Linked DNA regions of Homo sapiens: regions 1 and 3 are each linked to region 2. The links are contacts of gene promoters, found by promoter capture Hi-C in human tissues and cell types (Jung and others, 2019). All regions are on one chromosome and are shown on one strand. The core of a region is centred on a gene start or on the middle of the fragment in contact, and the rest is flanking DNA. Distances in the headings are between cores, read along the strand shown.

Region 1 (3,819 bases), core at 722-3,221, 460 kb before region 2:
CTTCTGTGACTCCTAAAATGTTCCATGCTGCATTTTTGTTTCATTTTTTATTTTTCCTTGCTTTGTTTTTAAACATGAATATAATGCTTACTTCAAATTGTTTAGTAAAACAAAATAACTAAAGAAATGTGAGCTTCCCAAGGTTTCTAAACTATCGCTGTTGTATATTCTATAGCGTTCCTTATTCTTTGAGGGAAACTGTGCTTGCTGTGATCCATTTTGTCTCTAGCTTCTAGTTGTGATTCTTGTCCATAAGCACCAAATTTGATGCCCATGATTTCAAAAGGTCATTTCTTTTATCTGAATGAAAATGGTGGTACTAAGACTGTGAAAATTATGTGAAACCTAAAGTAGTTGCCAAAGTGGCTCAGGGTTGTAAAATTCATTGACTTAATTATTCATGTGCCAGATCAACCCCTTTATTTTCTCTTTAGCTGTGCATATTTAAAATATTGGAAAGTATCAGATTTACAGATTTTCTTTGACTAATTTTTTTCACATAACTTTAGGATTTTCGAAAGTTGTAACCATAACTGGATATCTTAGCTGAGCAAAGGCGGTTATAATTTGTCTTTTTAAGATCACTGGAAATTGATAAAATTTTGTGATAATTATGATTATTCTGTGCCATTTACAGTTTCTAATACTATACTGTATGAAATATGTATAAATATATGATGCTGAGTCTGTGGAATGATACTTCTGAAATCAAAATTCCTCATAAGGCATGAAGTTGTAAAAACTTGAATGTGTATAGTTAGATATTTAAATGGTTGCTTCTTCATAGAATTGTCTGCTTTTTAAAACTGGAAGTACAGGATTTTCTTCAGGTAAAATCTGTGTGTTCCAATTACAGTTGTAGCTGAAGGAAGTATGCTTTGGTGAGTCAATTAGTATGGGAACTTGACTAAAGACCCCCAGTGTTGTAACGTACCTTTGTACCCAGACAAAACAATTATGTTACATTCCTCAAAGTGGCATGGGCTTTCTTCTCTAATTCTTCTGTTTTATTAGACCCAAGACAAGTTCTAAAAATTGAATGCAATGAGAGATTGTCCAGAAATGTAATATATACTAAAATATACCACTTAAGCATTGATTGCCTTTTCTTGTTTGCTTCAAGAATATAAAACTTGTTACTTGAGCTTGGAATCATGGGCTTGATTGAATTAATTACTCTTGGGGAAAAAAGACACCTTGTGGCATTAAGTCTTGCTTTGGTTAAAGCCTTATTTCACATAATTGCTAAAAACTCATTTTTGTTTAATATACTACCTATAGTTTAATTATCGGCACTTGTATTTTGTAACTTGATATCTTACCTAGGATTGGGAATTTGGGACATGACATGTACTATAAAAGTCAGTCTATGTACATACTGCTTATTGATGTGCTGTGATATGAGGGAATCTGAAATGTTTCATAAAAATAAAGCTTAAAAATTGTCTTACACTGGATAAAAGTGATATTAAGATATTATATCTATTGCTCTTCTTTAGTTGGTATTCAATATTTTTATATTCTTGTTACTGAAATATTCTTTGAAGACCCTAGTTTTTTGTTTTATTTATGTGGGGAGGATACTTAGGAAGCTGTTTGCTAAATTAAGTAAGTGTTCTGCTTACCGTCAGAATTGTGAATAAATCAGATCTCAATTTTTTAAAATTCCCTCGAATGGAAAATTTCAGAGGTACAAAATGTGAATTTATTATAAAAAAGTAGATTTTATACCATCTGCACATCTCTAAATAAAGAAAATAAAATGTAGGCCACAAGACCTAGGAACTAAATGACAAGGCTTGGCCTTTTTTTTTTTTTTTGAGACAGAGTCTTCCCATATCGCCCAAGCTGGAGTGCAGTGGCGTGATCTCTGCTCGCTACAATCTCTGCCTCCTGGGTTCAAGCCATTCTCCTGTCTCAGCCTCCTGAGTAGCTGGGATTACAGGGGCCCGCCACCATGCCCGGCTAATTTTTTTATTTTTAGTAGAGATGGGGTTTCAACATGTTGGCCAGGCTGGTCTCGAACTCCTGATCTCAGGTGATCCACCCGCCTCGGCCTCCCAAAGTGCTGAGATTACAGGCGTGAGCCACCATGCCCGGCCAGGCTTGCCCTTTTGAAAGTAATATGTATATCCTGAGGAAACTATCACATATTTAAAAGTATTGAATGCTATGCTTCATATTGACTGTAATGTGGGAGTGCAGAAGAATTTTAATAATTTTAAACATACTTCGTCCTCTTAAGATGCTTAGAAATTGGAAAAAGTCAACAAATATAAGTGAGAGAATAATCAAATGCACAGCTGTGTACAGTGGAAATACCAAGAAGGAAGAGAGCAGTGTACTTTTAAGGAGTTTAGAAAGTTCTCATGGAATTGTTGGCATTTGAGCGGGTCCTTGAAGAATGGACAAGACTTAAATGTGCAAAGAAAATGGAAGAGTAGGACCTGAGCCCAAGGCACAGAAGTGGGAATGTGGGTGTCATATGAAGAGACCTTCCTGGATGAATTGCAGAGTTTGGAAAAGCGTAAATAAGCCACATTTGCCTACAAAGCAAGCTTCAATCCATATGCAATGTGCAGAAGAGTTAAAGTAAAAAATAAAAGTCCTCATCCCCCCAACAATCCCATTCACTAGAGGTAACTACTAGTAAGAATTTCATGTACATATTTTTCCAGAAATTGTATCATACTCTGCATACAGTTCTGCATCTTGATTTTAGTCACTTAGCAGTTCAGTGTTTTAAGACATCTCGTATCAGTACCTCTTGCTGTACCCCACTGGGTTTTTCTTCTGTGATTGGGTAGTTGTCAATCACAGTGAATGAATATATCATAATTTTGCATTTTCCAATTACTTGGTTGGCTTCAAGTTTTGTTGATTACAAAAAAAAAATTCTGAAAACCTATGCACATCCTCCTATTCGCTTATGCGAATATATCTATGGGATGTATTTTTAGAAATTGCTCTGCCAAATTACATTTTAAATTTAAGCATTACCAGTTGCTCATCAGGAGGGTTATATCATTTTTAAGTTCTCTCCAACAGTATAGGAAAATACCTGTTTACATGAATGCTTATAAACCTGTATTCATTCACTGTTTAATTAAGAGTAGCCTTGCCAAGCACAGTGGCTCAAGTCTGTAATCCCAACACTTTGGCAGGCTAAGGAGAGTGGATTGCTTAAGCCCAGGAGTTCGAGACCAGCCTGAATAGCATAGGTAGACCCCCGTCTTTACAAAAAATAGAAAAATTAGCCGGGCGTGGTGGCGCACACCTGTAAGTCCCAGCTACTCGGGAGGCTGAGGCAGGAGGATTGCTTGAGCCCAGGAGGTTGAGGCTGTAGTGAGCCATGACAGCACCACTGCACTCTAGCCTGGGGGACAGAGCGAGACCCTGTCTCAAAAAAAAGTCATCTTATTAGTAATAATATTCATTGTTACTAATCTTCTCTGTGAAAAAATAGCTTCTAGGTTGTTCTCATTTTTGTTTGTTGGTTGGTTTGTTTTTTGAGCCAGGATCTCACTGTATCGCCCAGGCTGGAGTGCGATGGTGCTATCATGCCTCATTGTAGCCTCAACCTCCCTGGCCTGGCCCAAGGGATCCTCCTGCCTGGCTAATTTTTAAATTTTTCTATACATACAGGGCAGAGGTTGTGGGGGGTGGTGTTCACTTTGTTGCCCAGGTTGATCTTGAACTCCTGGGCTCAAGCAATCTTCCCACCTCGGCCTCCCAAAGTGCTTCCATTATAGGCATGAGCCACCATGCCCAGCTTCTAGTTTTGTATGTAATTATGAGTGAGGTTGAACAACTTTCTTT
Region 2 (3,444 bases), core at 416-2,915:
TTACATACTTTGGCCAATGTCCCTGAATTATCTCACGCTTTTATTATCTTGAAAACTTCTTTGACAATCAATTATTGCCAGACCCAAAACACCTCATGGGGTTGTGGTTTTTTTTTTTTTGAAAGCAACAATTATTTCCACAACTGCTTTGAAAACAGCATGAGACCAAGTTTCTAAGGGTACGGACAGCTTCTTATGTGAATATCAAAGCAAGCCTGGGGATGTTAATTAATTTCAAGAATATATCTTTAAACATTACCTATATTATTAAACAAGGATTAGAGGAGAGAAATCAGTGGGATTCAGGTCAATGTATTGAGCTTCTCTAGCATCAACTCAAACAGAAGATCATACTCCAAAAAACTGTCCTTAAACTTCCGGTCTCATAAATAATCCGCCACTTACTGTGGAGACTATATTTGGTGGTGCTTGCCTTTCCCTGCTTCAATATATTATGTTGTGAACATTGTTGATAATAATGTCTTTAACTGTAGAGCCTGCCACATTCATGACATTCCAAAAATATTCTGAGGATTTCTGGGCCGGAAGATGAGGCCATCTCACATTTAAAATAGGACTTTGCAAGTTATTTCTACTTTTGTGTTCAGAACTATCCAGGCAAAGACCCTGGATAACAGCTGAAATGCTGGTTTTTGTTTTTGTTTTTTTATTTTACGAGTGGACACAATTCTCACCTGAGTCCTGTTAGTCTTGTTAAAATCAGTCAGATGGAGAGAGGGGCTTGGGGGAAGTGGGGGCTCGCTATAATTTTAATTTTGTGGTCTGTCTGGGACACACCTCAAAATTACAAACCCTGGCCCCCTACCTGTTGGGATGTCGCCTCTGAGTCTGAAAACTTTCTGCTCCTCTTTGGTTTGTTTGCAAACGTCGAACTGCCAAGAGTTCTGAGCTCCTTGGGTTGGGGAAAGGCACCTGGGCCACCGGGTACTTCATGCACCCACCTGGCCCCGAGGGGCGGCGGGAGCTGACTTTCCTTGAGCACCAGATGCCCCGAACCGGTCCAGCCTTCCAGGTCGCCCTCCAGCCTCCGGGCTGCCCTGCGCCCCCGGCTATCTGCAGCTCACCGCGCCAGGCCCCGGGCCCAGCGTCCTGGACGGGCCCAGAGAAAGCAGAGAAGGTGTGGCTCGTCCCAGAAAGGGACAGAAGGAAAGGAGTAAAAACAGAAGCCAGGCAGCCAGCGGCTTGGCCTGAAATGCTGGGGCTTTCTTAGGCTCACTGGAGGTTGAAAAAAGTTTCCTTTGTCAAGCAGTGGCCACGTGGCGCTATGGCGGTCACTACCGGGAATTAACCACGGCCACCCTCTCAGAGCGCCGGGCGCGGACTCAGGGACACGCCGGCTACCACCTGAGCCGGGTAAGGGGAGCCCGAAACCTGCGGGCACCGCGGTAATCCACTATGGAGGCGTAAAGGGGGACTCGTGGGGTCCGCGAGGGGGTGGCGGGGGGGGGCCCGGAGGGAGGAGCTCCCGGGGAGGGGGCCACGGAGGGCCGGGGTCCCGGGGCTTGGGGAGCTGGGTTGGCTTGGAGACCCGGGTACGCGGCGGTGCAGGGCGGGGTTCCCGGAGGGGGCGGGGCTCCGGGTGGCGCGGGGCGGGGCGAGGGCGGGCACAGCGAGGGGCGGGGCGCGGGCCGGGAGCGGCGGGCAGGCCGGGCATGGCGTCCATGGCGGCGGCGATCGCGGCTTCGCGCTCGGCGGTCATGAGCGGGAACCGGCCTCTGGACGACCGGGAGCGAAAGCGCTTCACTTACTTCTCGTCGCTGAGCCCCATGGCCAGGAAGATCATGCAGGACAAGGAGAAGATCCGCGAGAAGTACGGGCCCGAGTGGGCGCGGCTGCCGCCCGCGCAGCAGGACGAGATCATCGACCGGTGCCTGGTGGGGCCGCGCGCCCCGGCGCCCCGAGACCCCGGGGACTCGGAGGAGCTCACGCGCTTCCCCGGCTTGCGCGGGCCCACGGGCCAGAAGGTGGTGCGCTTCGGGGACGAGGTAGGTGCGGGCCTGGCCGCGGACCCTCTTCCCCTCCCGGCGCCCCGAGGCGCCCCGGCCCGGTGGGCACCTGCCGGCGTGAGGCCGCCCCAGCTGGTAGGGGCTGGAAAAGAAAAGGCAGGAATGGCAGTGGGTGGGAGGGGAGCCCCAGAGCCGAAGTTCGGGGGGTGGGGGCTCCGCTGGGGGAGTTGGTTAAGAGATCGCCGAGAGGTGGGTCGTTAAAGAACCTCCATCTAGACCTGATCCGCCGGCTCGCACGGACTCCAGAGACTTCTCCCGGAGCTGTCGTAAGCGAGGCTGACCAAAGTGGAAACAACAAGCAATTTTAAACCAGACAAGCCTGGGTTTTAATCCAGCTCTGCTACTTACTACCTGTATGGCGGTGGGTCAATTAACTTCTTAGAGCCTCAGTTTCCACTGTGTAAAACGGGGGTAATAACGCCACCCCGTGCCTGCCCGTGAAGGGACTGAGCAAATGATATATACTAACATGAATACTTGTGATGAGATGTATGGGGAAAGTAAAATTGCCAAGCCAGGTAACAAGGAAGAAAAGGTGTCTTCCAAGATAAGGAGGGAAACCCATCCATCACCCTAAGATGTTTTCCAAGTGAGCACAATGCCCAGCGTATGTTTTAAGGGTGAGCATGGTGGCCCTGTTTTCCACCAAAAAACTAAGGGACGATAAGTTTAAATGAGCTCCAGTAAGTCTTGGCCACATAACAGGGCATGTTTAGGTCTCAGATCTAGACACTGTCCAGACTGCTAGAGGGACAGTCATTTGTGAAGGTAGAAACGCTGAATCTGTTCCAGAAAAAGCTCAGGGATGACCCACACTTAGTCACAAACGCCTGAATCTTCTGTAGGGTTCAGAAACTTGGTCTTCTTTTTCTTAGAAATGTGTTTAACCGAAGCCTGTTTGGTGCCATTAGAATTTGCACTGTGACTCTTTGGCGTTTCAAACTCAACTTTTGCCGTGAGGAGCAAAGTCAAGCTGAGCAAAGAGTGTAGGAATGAAATCGCTCGCTGTTAAGGCTGTTTCTTGGGCTAGAGGAAGGAGAAGCTGGGAGAGATTTTTTCCGAGGAAGTTGTGGATTGTGGATGGAATTCAAGTTAAGGAGGTTTAGATCAGATTTTCAGGCTTGGGTGTGCTGAGACATTTATTAATACGAAGTGTTCATGGTCATAAACCCACTTTAATGTGAGGGAAAAGTGAAATGACTGAAGGATGCTGCCAGTGTTTCTTTATTCTGATGGAATCAAAAGGAAATTCTCTACTGGACTTCAAATTCTGATGGCTTTGCCAGGAAAAACAAGGGTGTGGTAAACTGGGGAGGGGAAAATATAGGTTTTAAAATGTATTCCTAGAGCTGAAACATTTTCAGTGGGAAAATAGGCGTATTTATAAAGACTTGTGTGCAGTGTTTGCGCCCAGATT
Region 3 (3,541 bases), core at 813-3,312, 290 kb before region 2:
TGACCCTCTGACCGACTTTCTGTCAGCTCTCCAAGGGAGAGGCCAAAAGCCTTTCTCCTCGTACCCTCTTCCCTGGCACCTGCACTCCCGCGTCCCGCGGGCTCACCTTGTGCTGCTTCCACATGGCCCCCAGCGGCTTCACCTCGTGCTTGGCGTGCCGGCCCTCCTCCAGGCACAGATAACACACCGGGGTTCGACAGCTCACGCAGTACATGCTGTAGTTCTCCATTTCATGCTCGGGACACGTGGGGAACTTGCGGGCCGTGCTGCCCCCAGTCGCCCCCGCCCCCGCGCCTCCCGGGCTCTTGCAGCCGCCGCCTCCGCTGGGGGCGCCCTGGGCGGTGCCAGTGGGCCCGGAGGCTGCCTCGGCGGGCGGCGGCGGCGGCGGCGGCGGCTGCACCAGGCGATGCTTGGCGAAGGGTCCCCGGGATGGATGGCACTTGAGCTGGCAGGCAGAGCAGTAGAGGACGTCGCACTGCTCGCAGAGCGTGGCTGCTGGCTCTGGCGGGGTGCGGTCGCACAGCTGGCAGATGGCCACCGCCGCGGCTGCAGACGTCCCCGGCACGGCCCCGCGGCCCTGCTGGTACCGCTGCACGATGGCCTCGAGCAGCCGGTTGCGCTGGAAGCCGCGCAGGCCGCGGTGGTCCAGGGATGCGCTGCGGTGGCACTGCGGGCACGTGATGGAGCTCGAAGACGAGGACAGCGAGGAGCAGGCGGCACCCCGAGCCGCCGCAGCCGAGGAGCCGGGTGGTGCGGGCACCATGGGCAGCACGCGAACCCCGTTGGGGGACTTGAGGCTCGGGGTGTAGGACCCGTAGCCGCTGTCTGTCTCGCTGTACAAGCTGAGCTTGTCCGCGTGGTCTCCGCCACCTCCCGCACCGCCGCCGAGGCCGCCAGCTGCACTCCCGCCTGCACCGCCGCAGGCCGGGCCAGCCGCAGCGTCGTGCTCCAGAGAGGCAGCGGCGGCGGCGCCCGCCTGCAGCCCCGATCCCCGGGAAAGCAGGAGCGGCTGGGGCAGGTGCTGCTCACCGTCCGGGGTCTGCACCGCGATGGTGCGAGCGCAAGGCAGGCAGACATTGTGGGAACAGGGCAGGATGATAGGCTCCCGAAACAGAGAGCCGCACACGGGACACTTCAGCTCTTCCTCCATCGCGGCGCCGGCTGCCAGCGCTGCTCTGCGCTGGGGATGAATGGCCGGAGCTCGGGAGACTGGCGGAGGAGGACCAGCGCGGTGCGCCCCGGTGAGACGACGGGCGGGGGCATCACACGGGCATGCCCACTTCACAGCCGAGGGGCACGCCCCTCTCTCTGTCCTGTAGCCACCGCCCTAAGATGATTGAGGGGCGAGAGAAGGGAGGGGGTCCTCACCTCCTGCCCGAGGGTCCCGCACCAGCGGCTTCAACCTGCGGCCAGATTCCGGAGCCGGTCGGCTGCCCTCGCGGTGGCCTGCGAGGAGCTTTAGGTGATGAATCAGCACCAGCGCCGCCGCCGGCTGCAGCGCGCGCCTCCTCTCCACCCCAGGACCAGCGGCCGGGCTGCTGTGCGCTCGCTGCTTCAGCCCCTGGCTCCGGTGGGCGGCTACCCCGAGGCCCCCCTTCTGCCCCGGCCCAACTCCTTATCGGGGTGATAGCGAGGTGAGACAGGCAGGTGCGAAGGCCGCTCAGCCGTGGGGCTGGGATCAGCACCACGAGGCGGCGGACAGCGCCCGGGAGCCGAAGGTGGGGCTCCAGCTGCCTGCTCGCCGACCCCTGGGCCGCCACCCGCCGGGTCGCTGGGGCCGCGGCCACCTCGGCGGGACCCGACCGGCCCGGAGACAGCCGCTCACCCTACTCCTGGGCGGCTGTGGACGCCGGCTGACTGCGCCCTGGGGCTTTCTCCCTGCGGCCGGGATTGACCCGCTTCCCTGGTTCCCAGCTGCTGCTCCTGCGGCGCCTCTGACCTTGGGCCGCGCGACGCTGCAGCCGGCGGGCGGAGGGCGAGCGTCCGGCTGGCTCGGGAATCCCCTCCCCGCCTCCCTCCCGCCGCTGCCGCTGCCTCCCCGCGCGGCGCGCCGAGGAGTTGTAATTTCCAGAGCAGAGAGTAATGGGGAGGAGGGGGGAGGAGGCTTCAGCTCAGCGAATAAGGGCTCGCCTCTTGCTGCTAGGGAATCAAGGGGCAATTTTAAGGGTTTTGCAGGGAGGATCATTGTTAATAACAATCCATTATTTGGATGGAGATTGTATCTTGAATCAGTACAACGACCTGCCCCGCCCCGCCCCTGCCATCGTCTCCCTGGGCCACTCCAGTTCCACACCCCACCCCCAACCCACCGCCATAGAAGGGTGAAAACGGGATCCTAAAAAGCCAGTCGTTTAGAAATGGATAGGCAACATGGCCTGACAGTCGCTTCCTAAAACTACGATAAAGCAAAAAAATCCAAGTCCCAAAATGTCGGGCAGCCTGAAGTCCAAGGGTGAGGTTTTATTTATGAATTGAACCACAAGCCATTTTGTCTCTTCCTTTCAACCAAGGGTGCTCATCCGCGCTCCAGGTCAACTGTGTGCACGGACTGAGAGAGGACACGCGGTGCCGCTCACAAAATGGGGTTTCCTGAGAAAGGCGAGAGCGCGCCCGGGTAGACCCCTGGGAACCCAGCGCCCCCAGACCCAGCCCTACCCCGCTGCGGATGTGGCGGTGTGCGGCGGACGGGAAGGCGGCAAGCGGAGACGTTCCTTTTATGAATGGGAAAATCTCCACATTCTCCAACGCCAGCCACGAGCTGCGGGAACAGCCTCCCACCCGCGGCCCCGGCTGTTTGGTCTGCTCGGCTGTTCTTCCCCGCTGCTGCCGAGGGAAGGCTGGGTGGGGGAGGCAGAGGTGGGTGGGGACGAGCAGAAGAAAGTGCTGGCAGCGCAGCCGGCTCTGCCTACAGAAGTTTCACGCTGGCATGAAACAGATACAAATTAGGAAATCGTTTATTTAACAACGATATGAATATTGAAGTCATGCCTCCCTCCGTCCCAGGTTCTCCCGTGCTCCAAACAAAGACTAAAGACCGGAGTCGTAGCGCCAGGCGCGGGCCCAGGCTTCTGCTAGTCCCCGGGTGAGGAGGCGCAGGCTGGCGGGGTCAGGCAGGGGGAAGCTGCAGCCTGCGCCCAGGGCTTGGGGCTCTGTGCCTAGGGGACAGGAACCCCTGCAGGGGGACCCTTGGGGAGGCGCTTGGCGACGCGCTCCTGGCCGCAGCACGAAGGCCCAGAGCCTTGGAAGTCAGGACGCCCCGGGACCACTGGCCCCACTCAGCAGCTCGCTTAGGCTTTCCCTCGCTCGGATCCTGAAATGCCAAATGAATATTGTCATAATACTCATGTCTGAGAACTAAACGAGCTAGTTGCAAATACAGACGGCGTTTCCTACTTTCTGTTTTTGTTGTGGGGGCGGCGGTTGGAGTCTCTCTGGGTCGCCCAGGCTGGAGTGCAGTGGCGTGATCATAGCTCACTACAGCCTCGAACTCCTGGACTCAAGCAATCCTCCTACCTCAGCCTCCCAAGTAGCTGGGACTACA

What was found. The method cuts DNA at HindIII sites, captures the fragments that hold promoters and counts their contacts. A contact is called where the count stands out against the background at its distance.
Region 1: a fragment that was not itself captured here is called in contact with the fragment with the promoter of C1orf198 in region 2 in 1 of the 25 tissues and cell types used here (psoas muscle).
Region 3: the fragment with the promoter of TRIM67 here is called in contact with the fragment with the promoter of C1orf198 in region 2 in 1 of the 25 tissues and cell types used here (ovary).

What each region holds. Positions count from the first base shown.
Region 1 is chr1:231,330,391-231,334,209 of GRCh38, reverse strand. It overlaps EXOC8 (exocyst complex component 8), which reads left to right. Exons shown (of 1, transcript NM_175876.5): 1 at 1-1,457. Among named protein-coding and RNA genes, the nearest start is that of EXOC8, 5.6 kb to the left of the region's middle. The HindIII fragment of the contact is 5,987 bases long and covers 1-3,819 here.
Region 2 is chr1:230,866,742-230,870,185 of GRCh38, reverse strand. C1orf198 (chromosome 1 open reading frame 198) reads left to right here and starts at 1,665. Exons shown (of 4, transcript NM_032800.3): 1 at 1,665-2,006. The coding sequence starts at 1,674. RefSeq lists an enhancer at 1,102-1,693 and a silencer at 1,517-1,736. The HindIII fragment of the contact is 20,091 bases long and covers 1-3,444 here.
Region 3 is chr1:231,160,579-231,164,119 of GRCh38, reverse strand. TRIM67 (tripartite motif containing 67) reads right to left here and starts at 2,062. Exons shown (of 10, transcript NM_001004342.5): 1 at 107-2,062. The coding sequence starts at 1,150. RefSeq lists an enhancer at 1,162-1,796 and a silencer at 1,705-2,020. The HindIII fragment of the contact is 24,635 bases long and covers 1-3,541 here.